Linked DNA regions of Homo sapiens: all the other regions are linked to region 4. Evidence: promoter capture Hi-C in human tissues and cell types (Jung and others, 2019). All regions are on one chromosome and are shown on one strand. The core of a region is centred on a gene start or on the middle of the fragment in contact, and the rest is flanking DNA. Distances in the headings are between cores, read along the strand shown. Region 1 overlaps LINC01166 (long intergenic non-protein coding RNA 1166). Region 2 has its middle 7.5 kb from the start of FRG2B. Region 3 overlaps CFAP46 (cilia and flagella associated protein 46). Region 4 holds the start of CALY (calcyon neuron specific vesicular protein).

What was found. Contacts are between HindIII fragments. The study calls those that stand out against the background at their distance.
Region 1: a contact is called between a fragment that was not itself captured here and the fragment with the promoter of CALY in region 4, in 1 of the 25 tissues and cell types used here (dorsolateral prefrontal cortex).
Region 2: a contact is called between a fragment that was not itself captured here and the fragment with the promoter of CALY in region 4, in 2 of the 25 tissues and cell types used here (lymphoblastoid cells and mesendoderm cells).
Region 3: a fragment that was not itself captured here is called in contact with the fragment with the promoter of CALY in region 4 in 1 of the 25 tissues and cell types used here (mesendoderm cells).

What each region holds. Positions count from the first base shown.
Region 1 is chr10:132,950,670-132,953,550 of GRCh38, forward strand. All of the region lies in intron 1 of LINC01166 (long intergenic non-protein coding RNA 1166), which reads right to left. Among named protein-coding and RNA genes, the nearest start is that of CFAP46, 9.5 kb to the left of the region's middle. The HindIII fragment of the contact is 6,557 bases long and covers 1-2,881 here.
Region 2 is chr10:133,617,920-133,620,710 of GRCh38, forward strand. No RefSeq gene overlaps it. Among named protein-coding and RNA genes, the nearest start is that of FRG2B, 7.5 kb to the right of the region's middle. The HindIII fragment of the contact is 3,524 bases long and covers 1-2,791 here.
Region 3 is chr10:132,846,366-132,849,424 of GRCh38, forward strand. It overlaps CFAP46 (cilia and flagella associated protein 46), which reads right to left. Exons shown (of 58, transcript NM_001200049.3): 42 at 822-956; 43 at 567-746. It also overlaps LOC105378571. Among named protein-coding and RNA genes, the nearest start is that of NKX6-2, 62 kb to the left of the region's middle. The HindIII fragment of the contact is 4,039 bases long and covers 1-3,059 here.
Region 4 is chr10:133,335,556-133,338,412 of GRCh38, forward strand. It overlaps CALY (calcyon neuron specific vesicular protein), which reads right to left and starts at 1,341. Exons shown (of 6, transcript NM_015722.4): 1 at 1,279-1,341. The region is part of intron 5 of ZNF511-PRAP1 (ZNF511-PRAP1 readthrough); the gene reads left to right. RefSeq lists an enhancer at 1-271. The HindIII fragment of the contact is 49,503 bases long and covers 1-2,857 here.

The DNA of each region.
Region 1 (2,881 bases), core at 61-2,560, 380 kb before region 4:
AAGGTGCCATAAATCTCTTAGGTAAATCTCTCCCGGATCAGGAAAGGACCTAGTAAGGGAAGGCCACTCTCTATAGACACAATTTTCCCCTACAAGAGTGCACTTTTCCCAGCCATTTCAAAACATGTCAAAGAAACATATTTGGGAGTAAAATACTGTGCTTTTCTTTAGGGTCTGCTATCTGCTGTCATGCAATGCTATGCCAGAGTCAGGTTGGAATTTGGTATCTAATTGCCACAAAAAGTCTATTTGTCAGTCTTATGATCTCTACTTTAGTATAAATGCTGGTCAGCTGTGCCTAAGCTCCAACAGGGAGGGGGAGCCCAGCCTCCCTTCTCATCAATAATCCAGTTTTTCAGGTTTCCTGGGGTCCCCTTGGCCCAGAGGGAGTCCAGTCAACTGGGGGGGGGGGTCTTAGAATTTTATTTTGGGGTTATGAGATCATTAGATAAGTTAGGTCCAAACCTGGTTCATGTCCTACAAAAAGCGTAACCTCTAGGGTTATCTTCTCCAAAAAAATTTCCGCATTATCACCTTTCTGTAAGACGCCCTCCAGTTTCATGGGGCTGCAGTACGGCAGCCTTGGGGGCCGTAAGCGGGAAGGCAGTGAGGCCGCATTTTCCGAGGGAGGGGAGAGTGCTCTGCTGTGATACTAAAATCACTCACCACTAATTTTCCTCAATTTCAAACTTTGGAGATATTTTCTTGAACGTGGATTTTCTTCTTCATTGTTTTCTAGATATTCTGTAAAGAGAACTTTATTTTCTTTTGGCTTAATAGTTATGTTAGAGAGTTAAAAAATGTTCAGATGGTGAGGTTTTCCGCTTCACGGTATTGACTTCAACCGGCAGTGGTACTGCGCTGGGATTGGTGAACGTCGCCTGGCGGTGTGTATGCTTTGGAATTCGTGGTTTCCTCTGGGCCTCGATACGCCATCCATTTTTGTGATTGTTCCATGGGCACTTGAAAGGCCTTCGATGAATATTGGTTAGAACTGTGTTACTGACGACGCTCTTCAGGCCTCTGAAGTGTCTGTCTGGCTCTCCCTGCACACCCTTTGGCTCTGTCACTCACTCTCAGCAGATGCCAATTCCATCCCATTCGGAGCACAGGGGTTTGCTGGGGCTTCTCTGTGGCTCATATCCTTTGCTACCACCAAGTGCCCATCTGTCTCGGTCAGCACTTGTTTCCTTGAAGCCAGCCCTGGCGAGGAAGATCACAAACCTGCCTTTTCCCTGCTCCTTCACTGCTTCCTTTATTTTGGTATAATTTACATGCAGCAAAACGAACAGGTGGTAAGTGCTGCGTTTCCGTGAGTTTTGGAAGTGTGTGCACGTGGTCACCCACACCCCTCAGGACGGAAACCACCCTGTCACCCCACAGAGGCCCCTGTGCCCCTCCCAGTTGGCCCTACCCTGCCCTGGGGCACCTGTGCTCTGACTTCAGCCACCACAGACCAGAGTTGCCTGTTGTAGAACCTCCTATAACGCAGAGCACAGGGGTTTGCTGGAGCGTGTGCTCAACGTGGCAAGTGCAATTCTGCCCAAATCACGGAATTCAGACGGGACTAATGCAGCTCCTCCAGTCTCAGCGGCCATGACCCTGGAGCGTGAGGACTCCAAACCCCACTCTTCTCCACTCTTGGAGGGAAACACCTTGTGCAGCCCAGTGTGCAGACCTTTCCAGGAACACCCCTTCCCAGGGCTGGCACCCCCTGAGAAGTGAGTGGCAGCATGGTTTTGCTTCAGTCAAAGGAAAAAGTCTCTAAGTGTGGAGGTTAGACACCACTCAGAGGGGGCTGGATATTGTATTTGGAATGGAAGCTTTTGCCAATGTCCTGAAATCCCACAAATAGGGATCACTCACTCTGTTCTTTCTCCTCCCTCCCAGCTGAGGTGTGCAGAGAGAGAGGGCGGCATGCAGGAAGGGGTGCAGGTGCAGGTACTGCAGGGTGTGGCAGGGCAGGAAAAGCCTGCCCTCTGAAATGCAGGCCCTGGAAAGCCAGAAAATCCCGGAGTCCCATGGAGGAAGGATGCATCCTCTTGAGATGGCTGTGGATGCCCTGCTGGGGAAGTGAGATCCACGGACCTCTCTTCAGCTCTGGTCTCACCCGGAGCTCTCCCAGTTTATCCACAGTCACTGGGCCATCCAAAAGTCCACCCTGCCCATCTTAATTTTCCTTAAAAGCTGCATTGCCTCCTAACTTCAAATCATTAGCAAAGAGTTGTGCAAAACATTATCCAAGGATCTGAGCATCAAGCACTTTAATTCTCTCTGTCTGTGGTCAGTCTCACGTTCCCAGTCCTAATTTTGTGCATTGACATTTTCTTTGATTTGTTTTTCTTGCTTTAATTATCAGGTGGTTTAGCAGTTTCGTTGTGGTCATTTTTTTTCTTTTTTTCTTTTTAAACAGCTCTGAGAAAATAGTGAACCAGCAGGCATGGTAGGTTCCACTCCAAACCCCAGATGCCTGGGGACACTGGTCAGAGCAGGGAATGGCCGTGTGGGCAGTGGAGGAGGTGGGCTGTATGGGAGAACTCATTTCTTCTTCCCTCCCCTTGTCTCTCTGGCTGGTCACTGCTAACACTGTTGATGAAAAGAGTCAAACTCTGTAAAATAATTGAAGAGATTTATTCTGAGCCAAATACGAATGACCATGGCCCGTGACACAGCCCCAGGAGACCCTGAGGGCATGCGCCCAGGGTGGCCGGGGCACAGCCTGGTTTTATACACTCAAAGGAGATGCATCTCAGTACACTAAGATGTGTTGGTTCAGTCTGGAAAGGTGGGTCAATGAGAAGGGGGAGGGGGCTTCCAGGTCGTAGGCAGATTCAAAGATTTTCTGATTGGCAATTGGTTGAAACAGTTATTATCAATAGAA
Region 2 (2,791 bases), core at 139-2,638, 280 kb after region 4:
TCCACACTGGGGTCAGCCCAGGTGTTCGTAGCCATATGTTTTGGGCCCAGCACAGTTAATCCGAGCTGTTCTCCTAGGGCCCAGCCCGGGTATTCATAGGCATCCTCATTTGTCCCAGAACAGGTGTTTGCAGCAGTAGGCCAGATGTTCACATCCAATCTCACTGGGCCCAGCCCAGGTATGCAAAGCTGCCTTTACTGGGAGCAGCCTATGCTTTCACAGCCGTACTCGCTGGTGCCAGCCACATTTTTCAAAGCTGTCATTTGGCTGAACCATGGTATACATAGCCATCCCCATTGCCCACAGCTCAGGTATCCATAGTCATCCTCACTGGGGCCAGCTCAGGTGTTCCCAACTATCCTTATTTGTCTCAGCACAGGTGTTCACGGCCGTTCCCATTGGCTGAGCTCAGTTGTTCATTGCTGTCATTACGTGGGCATGACCAGGTATTCACGGCTGTTCTAACTGGGTGCGAGCTCAGGAGTTAATAGTGCTCCTCATCTGGGCCAGCCCAGGCATCCACAGCCGTCCTCATGATGATGGTCAGTGTCCGTGTTCAAAGCTGTCCTGTGGCCAGCCCGGGCGCTCACTGTGGCCAGCCTGGGCGCTCACTGTGGCCAGCCTGGGCGTTCACTGTGGCCAGCCTGGGTGTTCACTGCTGCTTTTACTGGACCCGGCCCAGGTTTTCCCAGCTTCCCTCACTGGGGCCAGTGCGGGTGTTCACAGCTTTCCTCATTGGGCCCAGGCCAGGGGTTCATAGCCATCTTTGTCAGAAGCAAAGGTGTTCATACCCAGGCCAGGGGTTCATAGCCATCTTCGTCAGAAGCCAAGGTGTTCACAGCCATCCTTTCCAGGTCCAGCTGAAGTCGCCCCCGCTTGGGCCCAGCCCAGGCGTTAATAGTGGTCCTCAGTGGGATTAGCCCAGCTGTTCACACCGTCTTTGTCGGGGTGAGTTTAGATGTTGACAGCCATTCATCTTGGGCCCAGCCAGGTGTTTATAGCCATCTTCATTGTGGCAAGCCCAAACGCTCACAATGGCTTTCGTTGACCCCACACCAGGTGTTCTTGGCTGTTTTCATTGGGCCCAGCCTAGCCATTCACAGCTGTGCTAGTGGAGACCAGCCAAGGTGTTTACATCTGTTTTCGTGGCAATCAGCCCCGATGCCACAGCTGTTCTTACTGGCTTAGCCCAAGTGTTCTCAACTGTTCTCATTGGACCCAGGCCAGGTGTTCACAGCTGCACTCACTGGGCCATGCCTACGTTTTCATAGCTGCCTTCACAGGACCCAGGTTAGGTGTTCACATCTGTCCACACTGTGTCCAGCCCAGGTATTTAAAGTTTTCCTCGTGGGGCCCAGCCAAGGCGTTCACAGTCAGTAGCAAGCTCAGGTGTTAACGCTTGTCCTTCTCAGCCTAGACCAGTGTTCACAGCCATCCTCATCGGGTCAATCCAGGTGTTCTAAGCTGTTCTCTCTGGGTGCAGGCCAGGTGTTCACAACCTTCCTCATTGGGGAAAACCCAGTTGTTAAATTTTTTTTAGTGGGTGCAGCTCAGTGCTCACAGCCGTTTGCATCTGACCCGTCTCAGGTGTTCATAGCTGTCTTCATTGGGACCAGCCCCGCTGCTAACAGCTTCCCTCATCTCAGCCTCCCCAGTTGTCCATAGCCATCTTCTTTGTTTCTAGCCAAGTTCTTCACAGCTGTCCTCACTAGGCACAGCCCACTTAATCACAGCCATCCTCCTGAGGGCCAGCCAGTGTGTTCACCCCATGCTCACTGGGCCAGCCAAGATACTATAGCTACCTTTATCCAAGCCAATCCCCGTGTTTATAGCTGTCCTCTTTCGGCCCCCTCAGGTTTTCACAGCTGTCAACATTGGGTCTGGCCCAGTTGTTCACAGCCATTCTCATTTGGGTGATCTAAGGTGTTCATAACAATCAATAAGGCAGCCAGCCCAGGTGTTCTGGCTGGTTGTTCATGGGGGACCTGCCCAGGGCTTAAGAGCTGTTTTCCTTGAGCTCAACCGACCTTTTCGTAGCTGTCTTCATTGTGCACAGCCCAGGTGTTCACAGCTGTCCTCATGGGTCCTGTACAGTTATTCCCTGTGGTTCTCATGTAAGTCAGCTAAGATGTTCTGTCACTCACATTAGAGCCAGGTCCAATGTTCATAGCAGTCCTCATGGAGGTCTGCCGATTTGTTCACATCCATGCTAATTGAGGCCAGCCATTTGGACTGAAAAGCTTTCCCAAAGCTTTGCACTAATTCAAATGTCAATCTCACCCAGAGCCCCCTCTTGCATACCCAGCATAATGTTTGGCCAAATGTCTGTCCTCTGTGGGCCCGTCAGACGGACATGTGAAATTAACCTCAATGCAGGCTCTGAGGTTCCAGGCCCAGGCGGCCGGCATCCTCCAGCTTCCACTGATGTGTCCTGGGGGTTGCTGGGGACATGCTCTGCCTGGCTGCCTTGAGCTGTGACCTTGGTCTTTTCCAGGCTTTGGACTTGAACCTAAGCACAGGCTCTGTGGGTCTTGAGTGCCCAGCCTTCAGACTGGGATGAACTCCATCAGCTCTTTCGGGGTTCCAGCTGGCCAGTTGCAGATCTGGGGACTGCTTCATCTCCAGGGGATGTCATGCCCTGATGCCTTACTGAGCATCCCTAGTAGAATAAAATCAACATTCAGGGGTAGGGGGTCAACCTCAACCATCAACCACATTTACTGCCAAACCTGTAGGTTTTAAAAAATTCATTTCTTAATTTGCATAGAATAAAACACTCTTTTAGCTTATA
Region 3 (3,059 bases), core at 533-3,032, 490 kb before region 4:
GGCTCCTCCTGGCACCTGCAGAGTCGCGTGGGGCCACGCTTGTTCCCTCTGTGGGACCTCTGTGAGGTCTGCACGGACAGGGCACTGCTGGCCTGTGACTGCCGGGTCTCTGTGTCTGCCCAATCCTCTGTGGGACCTCTGTGAGGTCCACACGGACAGGGACCTGCTGGCCTGCAACTGCTGGGTCTCCGTGTCTGCCCGATCCTCTGTGGGACCTCTGTGAGGTCCACACGGACAGGGACCTGCTGGCCTGCGACTGCCGGGTCTCTGTGTCTGCCCGATCCTCTGTGGGACCTCTGTGAGGTCCGCATGGACGGGGCCCTGCTGGCCTGTGACTGCCAGGTCTCCATGTCTGCCCGATGCAGGGGATCGGGGATAAGCACACGAATGCATGTTCTCTCTGAGCCACAAGTTTACGTGGCCGGCAGGCTCCCACTGCTTAAGGACCCTGGCCTGCGGCCTGCTTCTCTAATGGAGTCCCCCCAAGGCGAGGGCCCCAGCTGAAGCCCAGGGTCCTCCCTCCTCCATGAAGGGCCTGGCTGGAGGTGGGCAGGGCAGAGACACACCTGAGACAGAGCCAGGAACTGGCAGGTAGTTGCAGGGTCCAGGGTGCCGACACACTCCACCATCTCCAGGCTGGCGGCTGCTGCGACATCCAGGAGGCCACTGCCAAGGGCCACCTGTAGGCACTGCAGCAGCACCTCTGACGCCTGAGCCAGGTACTGCTGGGCCAGAACCATCCTCCTCTGTGGGGCACAAGGCTCAGGCTCAGGCCAGGCTCCGGGCAGAGGCCACACGAGGGGCAGGAGGGGCAGCCGCACCTTCAGGTCCTCGCCTCTCCTGCAGTGCTCCTCCGGGGCTGCCCTGGAGGCCGGCGGGTCCCTGCTGGACTTTGTGGCACCCTCTTCCTCTACCTCCAGCTCCAGAGACTTGAGGCCGCTCAGCTTGGCGCCCACCTGTGACACACATTGCAGGTTGGCAGACACTTCTGGGTTCCTGCTTGGTCGGCGTGGGGAGGGCCCACCCAGGGAGGCCGGGGTGGTCGGGCTCCTCAGCAGGGTCCCCGGGTAGGGGGTACCGCAGGCCACAGCATGGCCTCTCACTATCCCAAACCCTCCATCCCTGAGTTGATGCAGGGTGGCCCTGACCCGTGAGCCTGGGCAAGGGGACGCTGGAGCCTGGGCGAGGGGATGCTGCAGCCAGGGTGAGGACGCAGACCCCTGAGGAAGCCGGCCTGAGTCACGTGGGCCTGGAATCCAACACATTCCCAGGGGGCTCTCGTTCCTGTCCTTTGGAAACACCTCTCCCGGAACCAGCCAGCACTGAGGCTGAGGCATCCACCAGCCCTCAGGGGCCCCTGATCTGGCTGAGACACAAGCCCCACCTGGGTATAGGAAGCCCTGGCAGCCCCTGAAGAACCTGGGTTGAGAGGGAGCCCCCTGGGTTTTCGGGACACAAGGTATCGCAGCACCAAATCTATATATGCACCCAATGATCAGGCGTCAAAATAAAAACACTGATAGAAATGGAGAAGGAGTGATGGACATGTCCCCGTTCTAGTAGGCTGCCTGAATGCAGGCAAAAACCAGCAAGCACGCTGGAGGCAGGGCAGCCGTGGCCACCTGACACGCACGGCTGCCTGACATGCACGGAGCCTGGCCCCTTTCTCGACGGAGCACACGCCGTTCAGACGTGTGCAGAACATTTACCAAAACCAACCAGGGCTGCACCACGTGCAGCCACTGCAGAGTCCCCAGGACCGAGACCACTCGGTGTGTTTTCAACCACCAGGACATTAAACAGGAAGTCAGTCATGAAAATAGACCCGTGAGAAACAGTCGCCTTGAAATTAAACAAGATACAATCATCAAGTCAGTCAAACAAGAAATTGCAATGGAATTTATAAAACGGACTTAGAGAATGAAAATACTGAGGGAAGAGAAAAGGAAAAGTCAGTGAGGCCGACAGCCAAGGCTGGTCTTTGGAGAAACAGCCTGAAATGTCACAGCCACAGGCAGAGAGAGAGCTGCCAGGCAAAACCAAGCTGCGGCAGCACTGGTGAGTCGGGGGGAGGGAGGGCAGCAGAGAAGCCTTCGTTCTCCAGGTCATCAGCCGGCTGCCAGGGAAAGTTTCCTCCCCTTTTCAGGCATGAACACGGTGGGCTCCGAGGGAACCTGCATGGGTTGTGGGAGGGGGTGGGGGCTTATCCAAAACACACCCACAGCTGCACAAACAAGAGAGGCTGCGCTTTGTGCTCCCTAAAGACACACCCGCAGCGGCACAGATAAGGAAGTCACAAGAACAGCGAAAGAGACCAGCGGACTTTCTTATCAAAGCGTTTGGATTCAACTGTGAAAATGGCAGCCCACTCGGGCCCCCTCTCCGCCACAGAGAGCTTTTTTCTTTCACTTATTAAACTTTCGCTGCAACTTCTCCCTGTGTCCACGCGCCTTAATTTTCTGGGTTGTGAGACGATGGACAACGAGCTCGGATAACACCTTAGACAACGTGACCAGCAACCCTAGACCGTGTCGATCCTACGTATCAAAACTTGGGAGACTAAAACGGGGGTTAGAGGAAAAATACAGCCTTGAATACAAGAAAAAACCCAGAAAAACCTTGATTTAAGCTTTGATTTCAAGAAGCTGGACAACAACATAAATCATATCTAAGGACAGCAAAAGGCAGGTACGTCCCGGCCTGGCCTGCATGGGGCGGGGGCCGCGGAAGAACCCTGCGCCCTCCACACGGGACTTGACGTCTGCTCTGCCCTGGCCCCTCCTCGCTGGAGCACCATCAGCAGCATTCATGGATGAGGACGCAGCTCACAGGAGGCCCTGCCGACCCTCGCTTCTGGTCCACACCCACCCGCTACCTGAGCAGGCCAATGGAGGCTGGTTGCATGCAGAGCCTCGATTCCATCAATTCACTCGAGGTACATCAAGTCCTGTGCTAGGTCCTGAAGACGCAGGACAGACATTTCAGGGCCGACCCAGGGCTGCACGGCACCTGGTGGGGGGATTGCCCTGGGCATGGAGCCAGGCACATATGGCGTGGTT
Region 4 (2,857 bases), core at 91-2,590:
TTCCGGGCCCAGCGCCCCGGGCGGAATGCGGGGTTGGAAAGGGGGGACTAGCCTGTGTGTGGGGTCCAACCCCCCCACCCCACACACCAGACCTTCCCTTTGCATTGCTGCGTCATGGGGGCCTCCTCCCACGGATGACACGCGGCTCGTGGAACTGGGGGGCCGCCTCTGCTTCTCCTCCCGGCCCCTCCCTGCACCTGCGCTGTCGCGGCATCTTCTGCGGGTCCCCTGCGCCCCACCCGCCGCGCTCTGGCAGGGAGGCAGTGCCCGGCTCCTGTCTCTGGGGCGGGGAAGGCGTGGGATGCTGATGGCAGATGGGTGGGGGCGCGGGTGAGTGAGGCCGTGCAGATGGACAGATGGATGGCGGGGGCGGGGGTGCAGGCTCTCAGTCGAAAGTCCACGGAAGCTCGGCTGGAGGTCACGTCACAGACTCGCTTCCGCATGCGCCCCCCCCAACCATGGAATGCTGCGTCACGCTGGGGGGTGCGCGCAGGTGGGCTTGTGCGGGCCGGGCACCAGCGCGTGTGACTGCGGATCTGAGGGTCCCGCCCAGCCCCCGCGGGCGCCACCGCAGCCTCCCGCCCCTGGCGCTGCAGGGGGCTGTGGCTGCCCCGCTTATTAAAAGGCAGCTGCACTGCGGGGTCGGCGCAGCCCCTCGGAGGGGAGTGGGCGCGCAGCTGCTCCCGCTTCCAGCCCAGCCACCTGTGGCCCCGCACCCGAGCCTGCTGCAGGTGGTTCCGGAGCCGCGCCCCTCCCGGCCTCCTGGCCACCTCTTGCCTGTCACGCAGACGCCCCCATCAAGCCCACCGCCCACCCCCAACCCCCGTGCGGGCAGCGGCTCCTCGGTGCTCTGGTCCGACGCCCCTTCTGTCGCCCTCCCCACCCCGCCTCCGGCGGACAGAGCTGGGCGGGAGCTGGGACTGGTACCCCCTCCCCACCTCGGAGACACCCTTAACTCCAGGCTGCGATCCTCGTGCCGGGGCCCCGCCGTCACGGGAAGCCTGGAGACCACCGCCCTCGGGTCCGCGGGGTCGGACTGGCCTGGGGCAGCCAGAGGAGGCCCGAGGGAGGAGGGCGGCCGTGCAGCGCGCCCTGCACACTCGCACCCGCACACGCGCCTCGCACACACGCACTCACACCCTCATCCGCACGCGCGCCACGCACAAGCGCACTCGCGAGCACACGCACCTCGCACACACACCCGCACACGCGCCTCGCACCCCCGCACCCCTTCGGGCCCCCCGCCCACATTCTGCAAGAAATGTGGAAATAGCTCACAGGCGGCTCCACTGGCAGCTGCTGCAGGACGCGGTCGGGGAGGACGACGATGCGGATGTGGATGCGGAGGATGCGGTTCCAGACGCTTCGCGGCCGGGCGGGGCGGGGGCTGCAGCTGCGAGACCGAGGCTGTGGTCGCCATGGAAACGCGGCTAGAGGCGGGGCCTCGACTCTGGTCCCGCACCCTCTACCCCCACCCACCGCCCCGGCTAGGGAGCCGCGCATGCGCCCCTCAGACCCTGCTCGGGCCTCACCACACACCTCATACACACACCTGATGCACACACACCTGACACATCCCCAGAAACCACACCTCGAACACCAGACACATCCAAACACACACCTCACACACATCCCAGACACACACCTCACACAAACACCCCCCACACACACACCTCACAAACACCCCAAACACCTGACACACACACACCCCAGAATCACACATCTCGAACACCAGACACATCCAAACACACCCCAGACACACACACCCCAGACACACACCCAACACACACCCGACACACACACCACACACACCTCACACACACCCCAGACACACACACACCTGACACACCCGACACACCCCCAGAATCACACACCTCAAACACCACATTCAAACACACACCTCACACACACCCGACACACACCTGACACACACGTGACACACACACCTGACACACCCCCAGAAACATACACCTGACACACACCTCACACACACCCAACAACACATATACCTGATACACACCCCAGGCACACATTTGACACACACACCCCACACACCTGACACACATACCCCAGAAACACCTCAAACAACAGATACATCCAAACACACACCTCACACACACCTGACACACACACCCTAGTAATACACACATCAAATACCAGACATCCAAACACACATCTCACACACACCTCAGACACACACACAGCTGACACACACCTGACAGCCCCCAGAAACACACATTTCAAACACCAGACACATCCAGACACACACCTCACACACACCCCAGACACACACACACCTGAGACACACCCCACACACCTAACCCGCACCCCACACACCTGACCCACACCCCAGAAACACACATCTGACACACACCCCAGACACACACACCTGACACTCTCCCCAGAAACACCTCAAACACCAAATACATCTAAACACACAATTCACACACACCCCAGATATACCTCACACACACACCCCAGACATACCTCACACACACACACCTGACACCCCAGAAACACACCTCACACACCAGACACACCCACACATCTCACATACACGACACGCACCTGACACCCACCCCAGAAACACACATCTCACACACCAGACACCCAAACACACCTCACACACACCCCTGACACACACCCCACACCTGACACACACACCTGACCCACACCCCAGAAACACACACCTTAAACAGCAGAAACACCCAAACACACCCCCCCACACACCTGACACACCTGATGCCCATCTGACACATACCCCAGAAACACACCAGACACACCCAAACACACTCACCTCAAACACATCCCTGACACACACACACCACACACCTGACATACACACACCTGACCCACA